Regions from separate parts of the Homo sapiens genome. Here region 1 is linked to region 2. The links are contacts of gene promoters, found by promoter capture Hi-C in blood cells and fetal thymus (Javierre and others, 2016). All regions are on one chromosome and are shown on one strand. The core of a region is centred on a gene start or on the middle of the fragment in contact, and the rest is flanking DNA. Distances in the headings are between cores, read along the strand shown.

Region 1 (5,105 bases), core at 1,062-3,561, 130 kb before region 2:
ACAACTTATAATTTTTACAAGAACATTAATAAAAATAACAAGTTGCACCTACTATAGCCACTATTTCATAAAAGAAAGGCCATTTTTACATTTCCTCTCCACTCAGTGAGCATGATCTCAGAAGAAAGGACTGCCTTTCTCAAGAATGAAGAGTTAACAATAGCATCCCAACATATTTAAATATCAAGCCCTGGGCTCTCGATTTTCTAATTTAATTTAGCTCATCATTAAAACTGGCACTGGTCTAAGGACCAACATGTAGAAACCACCGCTCTGAAAGATCTGGCAGTAGCATAGAAGGCAGATTGGAGCTGGGGAAGAGAGACTTTTTTATTCTTTTTTTATTTTTATTTTTTGAGATGGAGTTTCTCTCTTGTTACCCAGGCTGGAGTGCAATGGCGTGATCTTGGCTCACTGCAACCTCCACCTCCCCAGTTCAAGTGATTCTCCTGCCTCAGCCTCCCAAGTAGCTGGGATTACAGGTGTGCGTTATCACACCCGGCTAATTTTGTATTTTTAGTAGAGACAGGGTTTCTCCATGTTGGTCAGGCTGGTCTCGAACTCCCGAACTCAGGTGATCTGCCCACCTCGGTCTCCCAAAGTGCTGGGATTACAGGTGTGAGCCACCGTGCCCCGCCCGAGACTTTTTTTCTTAAGGAGATTGTCTTAGTCACCTCAGACTGCCATAACAAAATACCACAGGCTGGGTGGCTTAACCAACAGGAAGAATGTATTTGCTCCCAGTTCTGGAGGCTGTGATCAAGTCTCAGATCATCCACTTGCTGGCTGGCAGACAGCTACCTTCTCACTGTGGCCTTTCCTTGGTGTCTGTGCAGGCACGGGGACAGTGAGAGCTCTCTGGTGTCTCTACCTCTTCTTATAAGGACACCAATTCTATTGTGTTAGGGCCCCACCCTTATTTAACCTCAATTACTTTCTTATAGGCTCTATCTTCAAATACAGCCACACTGGGAGTTAGGACTTTGATATGTGGATTGTGGAGGGATTCAGTTCACACAGAGCTATTGCAATGGTTTGGACAAGCAGCTCTAATTGGGGAAGGGGGAAGCCTGTAGGCATGGGAAGGAGAGGTCAGGCGTGTCACGTGCGTCTGTGTGAAAAGACCACCAAACAGGCTTTGTGTGAGCAACAAGGCTGTTTATTTCACCTGGGTGCAGGTGGGCTGAGTCTGAAAGAGAGTCAGCGAAGGGAGATGGGGTGGGGAGGTTTTATAGGATTTGGGTAGGTAGTGGAAAATTACAGTCAAAGGGGGTTTCTCTCTTTGGGCAGGCGTGGGGGTCACAAGGTGCTCAGTGGGGGAGGTTCTGAGCCAGGAAAAGGAATTTCACAAGGTTAATCGCTCAGTTAAGGTGGGGCAGGAATAAATCACAATGGTGGAATGTCATCAGTTAAGGCAGGAACTGGCCATTTTCACTTCTTTTGTGATTCTTCACTTGCTTCAGGCCATCTGGATGTATATGTGCAGGTCACAGGGCATACATTGGCTTAGCTTGGGCTCAGAGGCCTGACAAGGCACAGAAGGAGCTGGGATAGAGGTGCAAAGTACTCATGCTGACCTGACATCCCATGCCCACGGCAGACATGACTACTTGATCGGACAATACTTTCTTGGAATCAAAGACACAACTTCACAGTCCTCAGCATCATAGTTCAGGCAGCCTGTATCAGTAGATCAGAGTGGGCACATGGCCTGGTGCTATCACTCCATCCTGTGAGGGGAGATGGGATTGGAATGGAGGTGGAGGAGTCACAGGTGGTCCTGATATCACAGGCCTGGGAGTCTGAAAGAAGTGCAGTAGGTAGTATTATGGCCCTCAAAGACATCTGTGTCCTACTGTCTAGAGTCAATTAAAGTGTTACCTAACATAGAAAAAAGGATTTTGCAGGTGGGATTAAACTAAGGATCTCAAGATAGAAAGACTCTCCTGGAGTATCCAGTTGTGTCCAATGTAAGAACAAGCGTTCTCAAAATAGGGACACAGGAGATTGAATTGCAAAGGAGATGTGCTGATAAACGGAGAGGTTGGAGTGATGCCGCCATGAGGCAAGGAATGTGGGTGGCCTCTAGCAGCTAGCAATGATTCGGAAATGGATTCTCCCCCAGAGTCCAGAAAGATCACAGCAGTGCTGACACCTTGATTTGAGCCCAGTGTCACCTCTGTCAGACTTCTGCCCTATAGAACTGTAAGAGGATAAATTTGTGTTTTAAGGCACAAAGTTTATGGTAATTTGTTATAGCAGCAATGGGAAACTAATACAAGAAGGGTTGTGTTATCAACAGAAATACAGCAATCAGAAGAAAGATGGTTGGGGAGAGCAGAGGGTGGGGTGGGAAGGTGATGGATTCTGTTTGGGACATTCTGGGTGTCATATGAATATTATTGGGGAACTGTCCATCAAAAGCTCAGACTTCAAAGAAAGAAAGGAAGGAGCAACAATATTTTGAAAGGGAGAAAGTAGGTAATATTCAATATGTGTTGAGTACCTACAAGGTTTTTAGTTCTTTCACCAAGTTATTTTATTTAATTTTTATGGCATCAAGGGGTGTTTTTTTTTTTTCTTAAACCAAATTTTCTCAGTTAAGCATCCCATGTAAGTGGCCAGGGGTTAAGAGATGTGACTAAGACTAGACAGAGTGATTTTCATCATTACATGGTACTATGGTTCTACTGAAGCACTGAGGAAGGAAGTCAAGAGAGTTCCTGAGAAATGTCTGGAGTCTTAGTAACATGCAAAGTGAGGCAGAGGTATTGTCAGTGTTAGCTGGTCACTTTGAAAGGTTAGAGGTAAATAAAGTTCAGGGCAATGGTACTTGGAGAGGAGTGAATCTTTGGTAACCTGGAGGAGATGCTTCTCAGAGGAAAATTTCTTCACAGCATGAAGTCACCAGCTCTAAGACTAGTGGGTGTTCTGGGGGATGTTAGCAGTGACTCACTGACTGTTGGCCCAGTGAGGGGAGGGATGAAAGGCTGGGTAGTGGGTAGAGAATCTGACTCCTCCTGCCCCCACATGTCTATTCCTGGGCCTTCTCATGGTGGGGGCAAAAGGTATGCAAAGGGATTTCCGCAGTGTCTGAGTGCTCCCAGGAGACGGAAAAGTAACTGATGACTTGGAGTTGGAGTCTTGTTGGCTCAGGCAGCTGGGGCGTTTTGGGATTTCAACACCTCCCTTTAGTTTCTATGTATGGTGCTGAGCAAGTAGTCAAAGACTTTGGTCTTGCTTTACCCCAGTAGCCCACAAGCCTGAGTACATGGCTAACATTTATTGGGCACTTAGTGTGTGCCAAAGAGCTTTATGAGACAGGTTCTTTTTGAGTCCCATTATACTGATAATGGGACTGATAAGAAACAGAAGGTCAGAAAGGCCCAGTAACTTGGGCAAGGTCATGTAGCTAGTAAGTGGTCCAGCTGAAATTTAAAACCAGGTTTATCCAACTCCAAATCCCACATCTGATTTATTTTGCCATGAATTAAAACATAGTTCTGATTTTGAGAAACTCCCAGTCCCAGTGGGAAAACAGATGGAATCACAAATTACCATAACACAGTGTAGTGATGTAGATATAAAAACAAAGACATGGGAACCCTGAAAGGAAGTTGTAACACCAATAGAGGAATGCACGGAGGAGATCTTTCAGAGGAGGTAGCCTCGTAGCTGGGCTCAGGGGTGGATGAGTTTCTGGCTAGAAGCGCATTGTGGGTAGAGGGAGAACATATATAGAAAGGCATGAAGATGGTGGACATGTTTGGAAAGAGTGAGTACTAGACTGATGAACACGATGAGTCAGGAGCTTATGACGTCAGGGGCTACTGCTAGCCTAGCTAATGACTGAAGATTCTGTGAAAAGAAAACCCTAACATTTCCAGCTGAGTACTAGGGCCATGGTGATTATATATCATCTCTCATGACAACACAAATGTTTGGGCTTACTTATCATCCTGCTCAGTAATCATTATGTCACTCATTAAAGATGTATCAGGGTAAATTTTAGGTGAGAATTGATTAGAAATGTAAACTCTATATATGTAGTTACAGGCTTCACAGTTTGCCACTCAAACAATATGGTCATCCAATCATGAGGCACAACCTTCTGCTCAGAACTTTTTTATAATTGGGAGAAAGTGACATCCGAGTTCCATCTCTTCTGAGAACTGTGCAGCTCAGAAATCTTCTTCCCTTTTTTGATCCCCCAGTTGGGTGAGATGACATTAACAGTGTGTTATAAGCACTTTTCATGTTTACTACCCCATATTCAAAATTAAGCATTTCAAACAACTGTATAATTGTCTATAAATGTAGCATTATTAGTTAATTTTCCTTTTAACACATTGAGGTTACCTCTAATGTTTTGCTATTTTTAACTATGTTGAAATAATCATGTGGTTTTTATTCTTTGAATTATTTTATATTGTAATGTTCCCTGAAATGAAATTAGTTGATCAAAAGATGAGTAATCTTTTCATGACTTTTGATACATGTCACTCAATCACCTTCTGGAAGAGTTGGAACAAGAGCCTATTGCTGGCATCCCATTTCATAGCCATCTCACCAATGTTGGAAAATGGGCTTTTCCTATTTTCTGCTAATTCATTAGTTGTTAATGGCTTATTTTAACTATTAATCCCTTGTTATTGATGAAAGTTAAGCATTTTCTGTATTTTTATTTTCTGTCTAAATTCTACTTTTTGCACAATTTCCTTTGCTCACTTCTTCACTGGAATTTAGTATTTTTCTTTCCAATTTGTATGACTCCAAAATCAGTGATAAAATAAGCAAAGGGTCTTTCTTAGAGGCTAAACAAGGGAATGAATAAGGAACAAGAACAGCAAAGGGATAGTGAATAAAGATACAAAATAATAACTTATTTTTATTTTTGAAGCTTTCCCCAGGCAGTAATTCTTGACCTTTTTAAGATTATAAATTATTTTGAGATATGCATTCTTATCCTCAAAATGAATTAGTACATAAAATTTAAATGGGTTGATAGATCCCCTGAAGTGTATCCACAAAATGCTCTCAGGTTAAGCAACATTGTTCTATAATAACTGCTTTAACCAAAATGTTTAATTATTGCTTGTGTTTAC
Region 2 (5,573 bases), core at 2,836-5,335:
TCTTGACCAGAGGCCTCAGGTGGACAGTCTGTAAGGAGCTCCAGGCCAACACCCTGAGCTCAGCATGGACACCAGCCATCCCCTCCCTTGTGCCTGAGCTGCTTTCTGACTTGCTTCCTACTCTTGGCCATTTGCCTGGACCCCAGATCCTCCAAGGCTAGCACTCCTCACTCTTTTCAGAGCCTCTGCCTCTGTGCTGAATTGTCAACCCTTGGGCTAGGGGGCCCTGTGACCAGCCAGCAACCTTCAAAGTGCTCACACCTGCACTTCAGCATCATCTGGGCCTGGATTGGGGGCCACCAGCCTGAAAGATATGCCGGTGCTGCATATTTGGCTGCCTGCTTCCTACATGACTACCTGGTGTCTGCTGCCAGCTGTTTTGTCCCATGGGTTGGGTGACCTCTCAGTCCTGCAGTTGGCCTGGAGAGTGGGCATGTCCACTAAATTAACAGCTGACAGTAGTTGGAGGCGTCACCTCTGATTGACTGCATGTTGACAGGGGATGCTAACAGGATGACAGGGAGGGGACAAAGTGTAGGGGCTTTGGGAGTAGGGAGTTTGCCCTGGGCTGTTCCAGTTGCACTTTACACTACAGCCTATGTCTGCACTCTGATACATCTATCCACTTCCAGCTGCCCTACATCCTTCCCTCTCCTTCAGCTGGTCTTGCCAAGCTTCTCCGCGGCTTCCACAGCACCTGCTCCCCATCATCATGGGCACCACCACACCCTCACCCCTTGCCTGCCCCATGACCGCCGCCAGCTCTAGCCTGCCATTCTCAGAAGACATGCAGGCTTGCGTAACTCCCTGTAACTGACATGAACCTCTTCTCCTCACCCCCTCCCCTCCCCTCCCCTCCCCTCCCTTCCCTTCCCCTCCCTTCCTCTCCACTATCCTCTCATTCCCCTCCCTACCCCGCATCCCATTTTCTCTGGCTGACATAATTTTACTCAGCTCACAGGTTTTGCTCTTTTCATCACTTTGGTCAAAACAAATGACCCATCTCTGCTGCCTTCACCCTCTTGAATTCTTGAACTCCAAGTCAACTCCTCGCTTTAGACCCTTAAACACCATCTCTCTGCCCACACACTGGATGTCCCTCTCTTCTAAGGAAACTTCTCACATTAGGTGCTGGGATGTACGGAGGAAAAAAAAAAAAAAACCCGGGTGCCAGCCAGAAAGAAAATGTAGAGCCAGTTATAAAAAAGGGTCCATGGGCTGGGTGCAGTGGCTCACACCTGTAACCCCAGCACTTTGGGAGGCCAAGGTGGGCGGACCAAGGTCAGGAGATTGAGACCATTCTGGCTAACATGGTGAAACCCCATCTCTACTGAAAATACAAAAATTAGCCGGGTGTAGTGGCGCCCATTTGTAGTTCTAGCTACTCGGGAGGCTGAGGCAGGAGAATCACTTGAACCCAGGAGGTGGAGGTTGCAGTGAGCTGAGATCGCGCCACTGCACTCCAACCTGGGCAACAGAGTGAGATTCCATCTCAAAAAACAAAAAAACAAAAAAAAAAGGGTCCAGGGACTTTTATCACATGACCCTGTGGTTACTCTGGGCTTGTAGAGGTCTTAATCCTCTGGTGCAGTGGTTTCGAAGTCCAAGGGCTTTCTAGGGGCAGGGACCCCTTCTAAAAGAGCAGTTCTTCAGGGGTCTGGTGAGCATACATGTCTTCTGTAAAAGGCTTCATTTCAAGAGAGCATTGAGAGGCCCAAATTTGAAACCACTGGTCCAGATGGACTGTCTGACTCTGGGCTGCCTCTGTGACAGGTCTCACACACCCCACCCACGCACTGGTCTCTGCTCCAGCATTTCAAGGTCGTCGGGGTAGGAGGGTGTGGGAGGTGAAGAGGCATTTACTTCTGTCACTAAATACCCACACTCCTTGGAGACAGTGCCGCTATTAAAGAGATTCCTCCAATGCTGAACTGAGAGCTAGCTGGCTTCCTTCCCTGGTCCTGGGCCCCCACTGGGCCCACATCTAAAATAGTCCTATCCCTGTGGAAGCCCTTGAGGTATCTGAAGACCATATGGGTCTCTGCTTCCCACTTTCACTGCATCTCAGGCCCTCTCCAACCCAAGCCAAGCGCTTGACTCTCAGCCATTCCTCAGGCCCTGGCTGGATGAGCGAAGGTCCTTCTGCCAGGAGGAGCCAGCTCCCCTTGAGGTCTGACTCATGCAGTGCAGGCCCAGGCCTCAACCAGCTACAGATGGTGCTCCTGCCCAGAGACCTTGGCAGGGACCTTCTCCTCCCTGGGCCAGGTTCCTCATCAGCATAAGAGGTTTGATCTAGAGGCTCCCTCAGGTGCTTCCAGATTTACTTATTTTTATTTATTTGTTTTTTTCTTTTTTGAGATGGAGTCTTGCTCTGTCACCCAGGCTGGAGTGCCATGGCGCCACCTCAGCTCACTGCAACCTATGCCTCCTGGGTTCAAGCGATTCTCCTGCCTCGGCCTCCCCAGTAGCTGGGATTACAGGTGTCTGCCACCACACCCCCTAATTTTTTGAATTTTAGTAGAGATGGGGTTTCATCATCTTGGCCAGGCTGGTCTTGAACTCTTGACCTTGTGATCCACCTGCCTCGGCCTCCCAAACTGCTGGAATTACAGGGGTGAGCCACCTCGCCCGGTCGGTGCTTCCAGCTTTAAATATTTTGAGGCAGTTGAGGTTCCTGATGGGAGGTCCCCCACTCCTCTCAAGTTGTTGAATCACTGAATTTATCATGTTTAACAGATGTCTGACTGTCCTCCCGGTGATGCTGTTAAGCTAGGAATGAAGATAGCTGCATCATGGAAACACAACTGGGACTGACCCTTGGCCTTTTTAGAAATTTGATCCAGAAATGGGCTCCAAAAGCCAATTCCTTTTTCCCTCCAAAATGTTCATTTTTCCTTCTATCTATTTATGCATTTACCAAGGCCAAGTTGCTACGTTACAGCACCCGGCTCCCGGCCTTAGGGTTCCTGCTTTTCCATGGGGTCTTGGGGTGGTGCATCCCCGGCACCCCTACAGCATCCGCCCCTTCCGAGCATGTCTTCCCCGTCACAGAGAACTTCATGTTGGCGCCTCCAAAAGTTGCCGGAGGAATTAGGGAACAGGGTGGGGGTGGATGAGACTGAGGCCAGAGAGGGGGCTGGCGGTCTGCCCTGAGGACCCCCGTCCCACCCGCCGCCATAGCTGCATGGCCCCGGGACCTCCCTGTCGTACCTGAGAGGAGGGCCTGGCCCGTGAACTGCCCGTACACGGAGGCAGCATGGGGAAAGGCATTGAAGGGCGGGACCCCGGAGCCGACTTGCTGCAGATCCAAAAAGGCGGAGCTAGATAAAGAGGAAGGGGTGGAGCTAGAACTGGACACCTCGGGGGTTTCCTGCTTTATGGCGAAGGGTGAGTGAGGATCTGCCGGAGGGAGGGAGACAACAAGGAGAGAGGGGTGTGAGATGGCGGGGAGGGAACACGCACAAGCCAAGCCGTGGGATGTGGAGGGTGCGGGCGGGGCGCGGGGCAGGCTCAGCTGCCCTCAGAGTCTGGGCTGGGGAGAGCCGGGGCCCACGAGGCGTGGCAAGGCGGGGAGAGAGAAGCTAGACCTCCCTGCTGCGCTTCTGCAGCGAAAATGGAGAGACCCGGAAGGCGTGTGTGCGCCCGCCTCTCCCACAGGAGGGAGCGCGGAGACCCGGGAGCGGCCTAGGACCGGAGGCGCGACCCCTCGGCCCACCTTGAGGCCCGGCCTAGGACCGGAGGCGCGACCCCTGGGCCCACCTTGAGGCCCGGCCTAGGACTGGAGGCGCGACCCCTCGGCCCACCTTGCGGGAGCCGCCTAGGACCGGAGGCGCGACCCCTCGGCCCAGCTTGAGGCCCGGCCTAGGACCGGAGGCGCGACCCCTCGGCCCACCTTGCGGGAGCCGCCTAGGACCGGAGGCGCGACCCCTCGGCCCACCTTGAGGCCCGGCCTAGGACCGGAGGCGCGACCCCTGGGCCCACCTTGAGGCCCGGCCTAGGACTGGAGGCGCGACCCCTCGGCCCACCTTACGGGAGCCGCCTAGGGCCGGAGGCGCGACCCCTCGGCCCAGCTTGAGGCCCGGCCTAGGACCGGAGGCGCGACCCCTCGGCCCACCTTGAGGCCCGGCCTAGGACTGGAGGCGCGACCCCTCGGCCCACCTTGAGGCCCGGCCTAGGACCGGAGGCGCGACCCCTGGGCCCACCTTGAGGCCCGGCCTAGGACTGGAGGCGCGACCCCTCGGCCCACCTTGAGGCCCGGCCTAGGACCGGAGGCGCGACCCCTGGGCCCACCTGGCGGCCCGGCCGGCACAGCCCGCCTCTCCTCTCCAGGCCAGGGCCCCACACCTTCCGCCTGACAGCCAGCCAAGCTCTTCAGTCCCCCGCCCTCCACCTGCCAGGGAGGCTCCGGGCGTTGTACCTGCCACCACGGGGTAGGTCTGGTGAGTCGAGAGGTTGCGCCCCAGTGGCGTGTTGGAAGGGGTCAGGGTGGCCTTCCCGTCGTCCAGGGTGCTGTTGAGCAAGGGCAGCGGGTAGAGGCCCTGGGGAGCAAAGAGAAGTCAGCGCACAGAGACGATCCAACAAGCCGACCTTCCTGCAGACCCTGAGCCTGTGTCTTAGGACTTGGCAGCCCTCATCTCCCCAGGAGAGGTCCTCATCGCCCCCTTCTTCCTTTACGTTCTCAACTCCACTCGGCACGTTTCGTTCATGCTCATTGTCCTCCCGCATCCCTGGAATTCAAGGCCAGCTGGTAGCATGGGTGCCCAGACGTGGGATAGAGAGTCTCAGCCAGAGGACCACACCCTGGTTGGATGGCTGGTCGGCTTCCTGGTTTCACCACACTGTTGGGACCCACAGAATGCAGGACGGTGCCAAGGACTGGAGCAGTCTCCAACCGGACTGTTCAGGGTCCTTGCATCTGTTAATTTATTCTTCCCCAGATAGGAAACCCAGGCACAAAGGTTTAAGAAACTTGTCCCACTTCCAGATGGGCCAAAGATAGGATTCAGATTCGAGGGATCAGAATGTGTCTGCTCTCAACCACTGCCCTAAACTGGGTGACATAAGGACCACTTCTTACATTTGCAAAGAGCTTATATCAGAGCTTTGCCTCTGTTGTCCTAGTAGAGTCCCCCAGCAGCCCAGTGACATGGGTGAGTAATATTATGTCTGTGTTTTATATGTGGAGCCTGGAACTCAGGTAAATGGCCCAATTTTGTATAGTGAAACAGACTAAACCCGGGATTTTTCGGCTGTGGACCCAGGTGCTTTACCCACCACGTGGATTTCTTCTTTTCTCTCTCCACATCCAAACAAATAGAAGTGTGCAAGTTCGGCTTGAAAATGGTATTGAGAGTTGTTTTTGTTGGAAACACTCTTTGTCAAGTACCTGGGGGTCTTCATCAGTAAGACCTCATTTTAGATGCCTCCTGGCCTCCCCTTCCCAGGAGCACAGCTATGACCTTAGGTACTCCTTCCGAAAAGAACTTGTTTAACTAAAGGTAAGTGTACCTCATCCTCACCATGGCCTCCTTCCACTGGGGAAGCAGATAGCGCAGAAAAAAGAACACACCCAT

What was found. Contacts are between HindIII fragments. The CHiCAGO score rates a contact against its expected background, and 5 or more counts as called.
Region 1: a contact is called between a fragment that was not itself captured here and the fragment with the promoter of PAX8-AS1 in region 2, in 2 of 17 cell types (M2 macrophages and M0 macrophages). The highest score is 5.3, in M2 macrophages.

The regions. Positions count from the first base shown.
Region 1 is chr2:113,101,429-113,106,533 of GRCh38, forward strand. It overlaps a transcript of IL1RN not described here. Among named protein-coding and RNA genes, the nearest start is that of IL1RN, 24 kb to the right of the region's middle. The HindIII fragment of the contact is 5,174 bases long and covers 1-4,898 here.
Region 2 is chr2:113,232,184-113,237,756 of GRCh38, forward strand. PAX8-AS1 (PAX8 antisense RNA 1) reads left to right here and starts at 4,086. Exons shown (of 6, transcript NR_015377.2): 1 at 4,086-4,439. It overlaps PAX8 (paired box 8), which reads right to left. Exons shown (of 12, transcript NM_003466.4): 8 at 4,418-4,538; 9 at 3,211-3,399. RefSeq lists an enhancer at 2,983-3,172 and a silencer at 3,423-3,502. The HindIII fragment of the contact is 8,895 bases long and covers 673-5,573 here.